Linked DNA regions of Homo sapiens: region 1 is linked to region 2. The links are contacts of gene promoters, found by promoter capture Hi-C in blood cells and fetal thymus (Javierre and others, 2016). All regions are on one chromosome and are shown on one strand. Each heading gives the region's core, a stretch centred on a gene start or on the middle of the fragment in contact. The rest is flanking DNA. Distances are from core to core; before and after follow the strand shown.

What was found. The method cuts DNA at HindIII sites, captures the fragments that hold promoters and counts their contacts. A CHiCAGO score of 5 or more calls a contact.
Region 1: a contact is called between a fragment that was not itself captured here and the fragment with the promoter of MRAS in region 2, in 1 of 17 cell types (activated CD4 T cells). The highest score is 5.9, in activated CD4 T cells.

Annotation. Positions count from the first base shown.
Region 1 is chr3:139,348,839-139,353,551 of GRCh38, reverse strand. It overlaps MRPS22 (mitochondrial ribosomal protein S22), which reads right to left. Exons shown (of 8, transcript NM_020191.4): 4 at 3,230-3,373; 5 at 2,492-2,575; 6 at 760-905. Among named protein-coding and RNA genes, the nearest start is that of MRPS22, 7.2 kb to the right of the region's middle. The HindIII fragment of the contact is 2,342 bases long and covers 2,293-4,634 here.
Region 2 is chr3:138,346,698-138,350,954 of GRCh38, reverse strand. MRAS (muscle RAS oncogene homolog) reads right to left here and starts at 2,376. Exons shown (of 6, transcript NM_001085049.3): 1 at 2,188-2,376. RefSeq lists an enhancer at 1,909-2,864. The HindIII fragment of the contact is 4,446 bases long and covers 807-4,257 here.

The DNA.
Region 1 (4,713 bases), core at 2,214-4,713, 1.0 Mb before region 2:
GCGAGTCAAAAACTAACAGTCTGAAGGTGGCAATAATCTCAAAACTGTCTTGTAGTTCAGACTTGAGTCCAGCAAGGGCTTTTTGTGGAAAGTTGACTTTCTTACTACAGCCATGCTGCTTCCTTGTCATTTTGGCCTTCCTAAATCAACTGATAGAAAGATGCTCAAAAACTATTTTCTCTTCAGTTTTACCACAAGTTGTATTATTATTTCCAGCTAGAAGCCTGGGAGCACACCAGCTTGATGCTAAAATACAACAGGTATTTTTTGTTTCATGCTACTCTGAAAAGAAGCTAACTTTTTCATGCCTTAAAAATCTTGCAAAAGCAAGGGATATCAAAAGTATTTTCATAAGTTAAAGGATGGTGTTTACTGAAAAGCCCTAGAAATAGTTCTACCAGAAAACAACCACAGAGCTTATTTCTACTTCTTTACATTTCCTATTTAATCCCCCTTTCGGTATCTGGAAAGTTCAGCAACCCAGGAGCATTGGTGAGCTCAGGATAAGTTAATATTGAGGGTTTACAGTACAGATCCAAAGCCACTTACTCTTTCAAGAGAAAGTAAGTGGCTTACTTACACTTTATATAAAAGCAAAAACTAGGAGAGCTAGGTTATACTAAAAGAACAAATCCATAAACTGAGGTAAGCAAGCACTAGACAGTACACTGTTATCACTGGAAAAATACCATAGCCTAAATACAGATGAACTGTTAGAGCAATAAGAATGATTCTTTCACTTACTAAGATCATACTTACAAATCTCTCTGAATCTGGTCAATCAGCAAACCATCAATCTTTTTATTATTTACAAAATACCACACCATTCCACCAAAGTATCTTGTTGAACGTAAAAGGTCATATTTTCCACGTTTATCTATATCTTCATAGGTCTTGTGATGAACCTATCCACATAAAATGCAACTCTTCAGAAACATGAAAATAAGAAGTATGCAGCATTATTCAACGTACACTGATTAGCATGAGTGCTGCCCAAGCAAGTAAAACCAGGTCTACTTACAGTTGCCTCCATATCATTAACCAATTGGTATGATTTAAACCATTCCTAGTACAACCCACCTTAGGTGGGAAGGAGGATTCTATTAAGAAAGAATTTTGGCCAGGCACAGTGGCTCATGCCTATAATCCCAACACTTTGGGAAGCTGAGGTGGGAGGACTGCTTGAGCAGTCCTCATCTCTAGGAAAATTTTTTAAAAAATTAGCTGGGCATGGCAGGCCACAGAATAAGACCCTGTCTTTAAAAAAATTAAAAGAGAAGAATTTGTCTAAATGACAGCAAGTCTGTGCCTTCTCCACTGTAGAAGTATGTGGCAGCCTGAAGCAAAATACCAAACATTTATAGCCATATTAAGTACTTTTTGGCAGGCCAACTACAATTTATTAAGCACCGATTATGCATATAGAGACCACTGGAAATAATGTAGCACCCACTTCTTGGTCACTATGGCAGAAAAGAAATCAAGTATTTTTTCACTACTCTCCCTTTCCCCTATCCCTCCCCCCATCAACTACCCTATTCTACCAGCTAGCCCATTCCATCTTATTAACTAAAGGTCCTTCAGTCCTCCTTCCAGATTGATCTTCCTAAATGAAGGTTCTGATGGGGGCATTCCTCTGTTCAAAAGGCTTTCAAAGGTCTGCTGACTGAATTCCAGATTCCTCAGCCTAGCATCTGAGGTCACCTATGATGTGGCTACATCCACCTTCCTAACTTAATCTTTAATCACTCCCCTACATATACATGGCATATATAAGCAAACCAGATCACTGGCCGTTTCTCAAGCCTCCTTTTTTCCTGCCTGTTGCTTATACTGTTCTCTCTACCTGAAACACCTCACCCAGCTCCACCTGCCACAACATTTCCTGCACTTCTAGAACCCTCCTTTACACCCCTATGAAGGCTTTCTTCAAAGAATTTGTAATCTTCTCTTAGTGTCTAGCATTTTAGGCCTGAGGAGATAATTATTTGTATACTTACTAGCACCTTTCCCCACAGCCATATCCGGACTGCTGGCTTTGGCACAGCATACTCTATCCTAGTTCGTGGCATCACCTATACTACCCAAGATAATACCTTACACATAGAAGGTACTAATGAATACTTACTGAGCTGTAAGACAAACACACTGTACTTCAGCAAAATTTTAGTAAATAATTTGATTCCTATACGGTAAACTGAAAAGAGAATAGGCTTTGTCATCAAACTTGGGTCCTAACCCTACCACTTAGTAGCTATGCAACTTTCAGCAAGCTACTTAATTCTACAAGCTTAAATTCCCTCATCTTTAATCAAGGGTTGTTGTGATTATAAAATATATATCTGGCACACAACTGTACTCAATAGATTTTCAGGTATTTCTCTTCCCTTTCCCCTGTATCAAAACTTACAACGAAATTCATTGAGCTAGATTAAAAATCTTACTCATAACCATACTTAAGCCTATATTTTAGAAACTAAAATCTACTCACCTTGATATACTCTGTGGAATCTGGCTCAAACTGGGCAAAGCAGAGATTGAGGACATCAACATGCCTGTCCTGGCTATACATAGTCTAAAACCACACAGCAGAGTTAGCATCACATGAGAACACTGAAGTTCAGCACCTGTCCTGATGTCATGACAGGCCTGCCCACCCACATACTGGCCACTCTGTGCTCCTCAAGAAGCATAAAGAAAGAACACAGGCTTTGTAATTGTCACACCTAGATTCAAATTCCAGCTAAGCCAATTATGAGAGAACCCTAGTACAACCCATCTTGGGTGGTAAGGAGGATTCTATTAAGAAAGAAGTCGGCCAGGCATGGTGGCTCACGCCTGTAATCCCAGCACTTTGGGAGTCGGATTGCGGGGGGGGGGTGCGAATCCCGAGGTCAGGAGTTCAAGACCAGCCTGGCCAACATGGTGAAACCCCATCTCTACTAAAAATACAAAAATTAGCCAAGCGTGGTGGCGGGCGCCTGTAATCCCAGCTACTCATGAGGCTGAGGCAGAAGAATCACTTGAAACCAGAAGGTGGAGGTTGCAGTGAGCTGAGATCCCGCCACTGCACTTCAGCCTGGGCAAAAGGAGCGAAACTCCATTTCAAAAAAAAAAAAAAGTCAAGTTATCATTAGAAATGTTTATCTGGATCAAGGCACAAAGCCAACTGGTTCTACAAATAAATCATCACCACTGGCTCTAAAACATAAAACCTAAGTCACCTTACCCTAAGATTTTCTTCCTTGAAAATTATTGGTGTCAAAATTTTACGACCTTCTTTTGGGAAATAAACTTGTATCATTCGGTCCCGTTCTTCCCAAGAGGCTTTGCGTAGTGTGCCACTTGGTTCTCTGACGACAATAAAACGCTCCTAAAATAGAAAAACATAATCAAGGATGCGTTTGTGAGGACGTATTTTTAGTTCCTGTGTCCCACTAAGGCCATTATAAGAATAATTTGCAATCAACAATATAAAATGCAATCATGCATATGAGATCAATGATAATTTTAAACCTCAAAGACTTGGCAAGGTTTGATATTTCCTTCACTAATCACTGCTGTGCATCTGACAATCAGAAATCTAAAATGAAAGTATTCAGTAAGTACCAACTATGGTGCTAACGTGAGTTCGATACGAAAAAAGCTGAGATTCATCTATATCCATTTTAGAGGAAAGAAGTGCTATGACCTTTCCAAACTTTCATTTCTCTATCCCAAAGTCTCATCTAAACAGATTTTACTACTTTATGATCTATGTTTAAAGTCCTTGGGATAAAAAGAACAAACCCAAGAATGAGGAGTCTTACTTCTACACTTTTATGATTTCTTATATTGGCATTAGACATAAACATGTCTGAGAGGCTGTCTGGTCCAACTGTCTCTGGTCACTTCGATCTTCCAACTGCCAACTCCCAGGCCATGGGATCACTTCCTCCTCTAAATTCTACCTACTTTTTATACCATTCAACTGGAAATTTACCCCACACAAGATTTTTGGCATCCCTCAGATATTGTTATATAACTGGAAAAGGGCAGGAAATGTGGATTATAATTTTTTGCAATACCGGGAGTGGCATACATGGAGCTTTGCACATTGCTGATAATTGATACACACCTGATTAATGTATAAATTAACCAAACAGTACTGACTCTCAAGTTTTCAGAGGTGTAGGAGTCTCTAAATGTGTTCTGAAGATAACATAGATGAAACTTCCATCAACACTGCCAATCGAAAAAAAAAAAGCACATGCCAACATAATACAATTTTTCCTCAGAAGGATTTTGGTAATTTGAGAAACCTGAATTCCAAGTTCCTTTCTCCTTTTCAAGTTACAAAATGCTTCCCAACCAACATGCACAGCACTGCAAACATATATTAAAGCATCACAAAACAAAAACTGTAATTAAAATTGAAACTCTGTGACTCATGTTCATTATGTCAAATATACAGATGGCTGGTGTTGAACATAGCTCAAATCGTTTTCTAACCATAATCATGTATAATAAAAGATTAATATGGAGTGAACCTTCTCCTAAACTCAGCATTCTATAGTGTTCTAACGTATTCTGTGGGCTGAATTGTAAACTATTCTCTTTTTATTCTTTACTTGCAAAGGCTCAAATACAAAGCTTACATATTTCTAAAATGCCAGAGTGTTCTTTTAAATTTGCAATCAAGTAAAGAGGAGCCAGAGAATAACAATCACAACA
Region 2 (4,257 bases), core at 1,127-3,626:
TTTTTTTTTTTTGAGACAGGGTCTTGCTCTGTCACCCAAGCTGGAGTGCAGTGGCGTGATCATGGCTCACTCCAACCTCTGCCTTCTGGGCTTAAGCAATCCTCCCACCTCAGCCTCCCAAGTAGCTAAGACTACAGGTGCATGCCACCAGGCCCAGCTAATTTTTGTAGAGACGGAGTTTCACCATGTTGCCCTGGCTGGACTTGTCACTTTATAAGTAGCTCAGACGAACTGAGTATGAAATACCAGTGGCTAGAGCTAATAATAACATAAAAGTTAAACCTGTCATAAAGTGTCTTATGTAGGTGAAAACAGAGGTGGAAATTAGCAACTGTCTTATGGAGGAGCGAAGCTGACAACGCTGGAGACAATCGCTTGCTTCACCAAAGGGCCTTGACTACCGCCTACCCCAGTCCCGCCCCCAGCTTTAGGAAATGCCGAGGTCACATCTAGGGGGTCAGTTTCCACCAGAGCACGAGGCTTGCCCAACACCTCCCTCCCCAGAGGCTGGCAGACCTCAAAAACCCCAGAGCATGAAAGCCCCATGCCTCCCACCCCGGCAGAAAAAGGACAAACTACACCATAAACTACAGAGAGAAGCTAACTGGCTGCTGGGCAGTGTGAACAGACCTAAGGGTGAAAACCATTGCCCGAAACATTTTCAGCCCCACTCAGCAGGGACATGTGATTTACAGGAAATTAGGAGGTTTACAAAATGTTAGCAGCTCAAGTTTCTTCCCCGGGAAAAGAAGCAGGAGAAGCTCTAAGAACCGTATCCGAGAAAGTGCTTTGTTCACTGCTAAGCTTCTGACACGAGTCAGTTATTAATACCCACAGCTCACTGCCTCACACTTCAACCCACCAGTGAATGTCTATAGTGAATAATTATAAAACAATATATTACAAAACTCTAACACAGGCTGCACCAGAGCCTTCCGAAGCCCAGGACAGCCACGTGGCCAAAAGCATGGACTTCAGATATGATCTTGGGCAAGCTGTTGGCTCTTTTTCACCCCAGTTCCTCCATCCTTTACAATAAACAAAATCCTTCTGGAGGTGTCTTGTCAAGAGGTGTCTTGTCAAATGATGAGCAAATCCACTTCAAGTGCCTGGTCTTTGGAAGCCCTGTTGGTTGCTGTTATTACAGTGGAGTTTCAGAGCTCTTAAAGTCATATCTCCATCTTACTTCTGCTGCCAGACAAACCTCTGGAGGCCACGATTCCGAGCCTTGTCAGCCACCCTCTCTGGTCAGGTCCAGGACAGAGTGAGTCCTAGAGGAGCAAGGCCAGGGAGGTTCCACACCATCAGGGGCCATTGGGGAGTAGGGGCAATGGCAGAGCTCTATGATCAAGGCCCCAGTGGCCTTGATGGACTCTGTCCACCTCTCCAGACTCCACTTTGCCCCAGGCCAGAACAGACCTCAGCTCTAGCCAGAGTCTAACTGGGTGTCCAGTGTATACGCTGCGGCCAGCCAGACATTAACTCCTCTAGGCGGCCTTCTCTCACCTCCCACTCTGCAGTAGGGACCCCTAGGGGCTCCCACAACCCCTGGGCTTACCGAATCTCAGCACTTACCACACTGGCTTGTCACTTTGTGCTCTTGTCTTCCCCGCAGGGCAGGACTGGCACCGTGTCTGATGCCTCAGCCAGATCAGTTCAATGCATGAGCCCAGGCCCTAGTTGTGACCACAGCTCCAGCTCCCCAAACCTCCGGGGGCAGTGAAGGGTTGTTTATGAAGCAGGCTGCGTTTTATTATTCAGATGAATTTGTCAACTCCCTGGCGGATCCCTCCCCTCGTTAACGCCATCTTAAGGCGGGGGGGTAAAGAGTCCCCCACCCACCCACCCATCCCCCGCCGCCCCGTCCTGCCGCCCATCTATCCACCGGGTTCTCGCCCAGGCAGCCAAGGAACTGTAATTACCATGAAAGGGTCTCTCTGAGCGGCGCGCAGGCCCTCCCCACTGGGGTCTTGGTCGTGGCCGATTTCACGAACGCACACCGTTACGCGGGAGCCCGCGATGGGGGCAAAACGCCACGCACAGCCGGTCCCAGGGCGCACCCCGCAAGCGGAGAGCGCGGCCGAGCCCGGAGGGCGGCCACACCTCCCGCCCCGGAACAAAGCGACGGCCGGGGCGAGAGGCGGCGCGGCCGGGCCCCCTCCCCTCCAAGGCCGCCCGACCACTCACCGCGCGCTCCAGCCCCGGCTCGGCTACGGCACTCAGGCCGCCCCCTCCTAGCCTGCGCCGGTGAGGAGGCAGCGTCGCGCCCGCCGGGCCCCGCGGCCGCCGGACTGACGGCTCCCCGCCAGCCGGCCACTCCGGTCCGTCCCCGCCCCGGCGCCTCCTTAAAGCGACCGCGCCGCCAGCGTGCGCCCCGAGCGCCTAGCGCGCCGCGCATTCCTTATATTGCCACAGCGCCTGCTAAAAATAGAGCGCCGCTGCGGGCGCGCCAGTGGGGAGCCCGGGCCGGGTGCCTCGACCCTGTCGCCCCCGCGTGCACCCCGGCCCCCAGGACGCGCGCCTACGAAGTCCAGCCCACCCGCGCCGAGTCCCCTGGGCCCGGCAGGGCGCGCTAGAGCGCCAGGGGCTGGGGTCGGCGCCGCAGCCTCTCCCGCGGCCCAGCACTTACCCGGGTCAGATCCGTGGTGCCGGGGAGCTGGCTTTAAGGTGGACGCCGAGTGGGAATTCGACTCGGCCTCTTTAAGAGCCTCTGCGCTCCAACCTTTAAATCTCCGCTCCGGCCGGGCCAACTTCTGAGCCTAGGGACGCCTCCCCAGTCCTAGGCGAACCTCCGCCGCCACCTTAGCTGCATTCCCTTCGAATCCTGAGACGTCTTTCTTCCAGATCATGCCCCAGCGTCTCTCCCCGCAGGCCTTCTGGGTGCACCGTTCCAGGGCCCAAACTTCGTTGGGATGGATGCGACGGGGACAGGCGACACTCGCGCACCATTTCATTGTTTCAGTTCCGCTAACTCCTCTCCAGCGGCGTCATTTTCCCCCCGTTAAAAAAATAAAGATATAATTCAACACCATAAAATTCCACCTTTTGAAGTGTACAATTCAAGCCGGGCGCGGTGGCTCACGCCTGTAATCCTAACACTTTGGGAGGCCGAGGCGGGTGAATCGCCTGAGGTCAGGAGTTCAAGACCAGCCTAGGCAACATGGTGAAACCCCGTCTCTACTAAAAATACAAAAGTCAACCCGGCATGGCGGCACGTGCCTGTGATCTCATCTACTCGGGAGGCTGAGGCAGGAGAATCACGTGAACCCGGGAGGCAGAGGTTGTAGTGAGCCGAGATTGCGCTACTGCACTCTAGCCTGGGCAACAGAGTGAGACGCTGTCTCAAAAAAAAAAAAGTGTACGATTCAGTGGTGTTTAGCATATTCACAAAGTTTTGCAACCATCACCATGAGCTAATTCCAGAACATTTTCACCACTTCCCACTCCCCTCCCCTGCCCCTCACAAAAAGAACTACCCGTTAGCAGTCACTCCTCATTCACCCCTTTCCTCCGCCTCTGGGAACCACTAATCTACTTTCAATCTCTATGGATTTCCCTATTCAGGACATTTTCTATAAACGGAATCATACAACATGTGGCCTTTTGTGACTATGACTAGCTTCTTTCAGTAACCAATGTTTAATGATCTATTCATGTTGTAACATGTAGCAGTACTTCATTCCTTTTCATGACTGAGTAATATTTCACTGTATGTCTATACGTTTTGTTTATCCCTGCATCACTTGATGGATATTTAGTTTTCTGCTTTGGGGCTACTGTGAATAAAGCTGCTATGAATATTCATGTACAAGTCTTTGTATGAACATATGCTTTTCTTTCTCTTGGGTATATACCTAAGAGTGGAATTCCTGGATCATATGTTAACTCCATGTTTAACTTTTGGGGGAACTGCCAAACTGTTTTCCAAAGCAGCTGCACCATTTTACATTCCCACCAACAACATATGAGGGTTCCAATATCTCCACATCTTTGCAAACACTTGTAATTGTGTGTCTTTTTTTATTCTAGTCATCCTATTGGGGGCGAAATGGCATTTCATTGTGGTTTTGATTGTCAGCATCATTTCTGAGGACATTCTTTTTCTGGGTGGACCTCAATGACTTAGAACCAGCTTTACATGTCCAGGGAACCCACTCCCTTCTCAGGTTTGCCCCAGGCCTAAGGGAGCCTCACAGTGCTGCTGGCTCTGCCTGCCATGCTGAGGCTCTTAATCCCATGCAGGCTTCCTTTGGCATC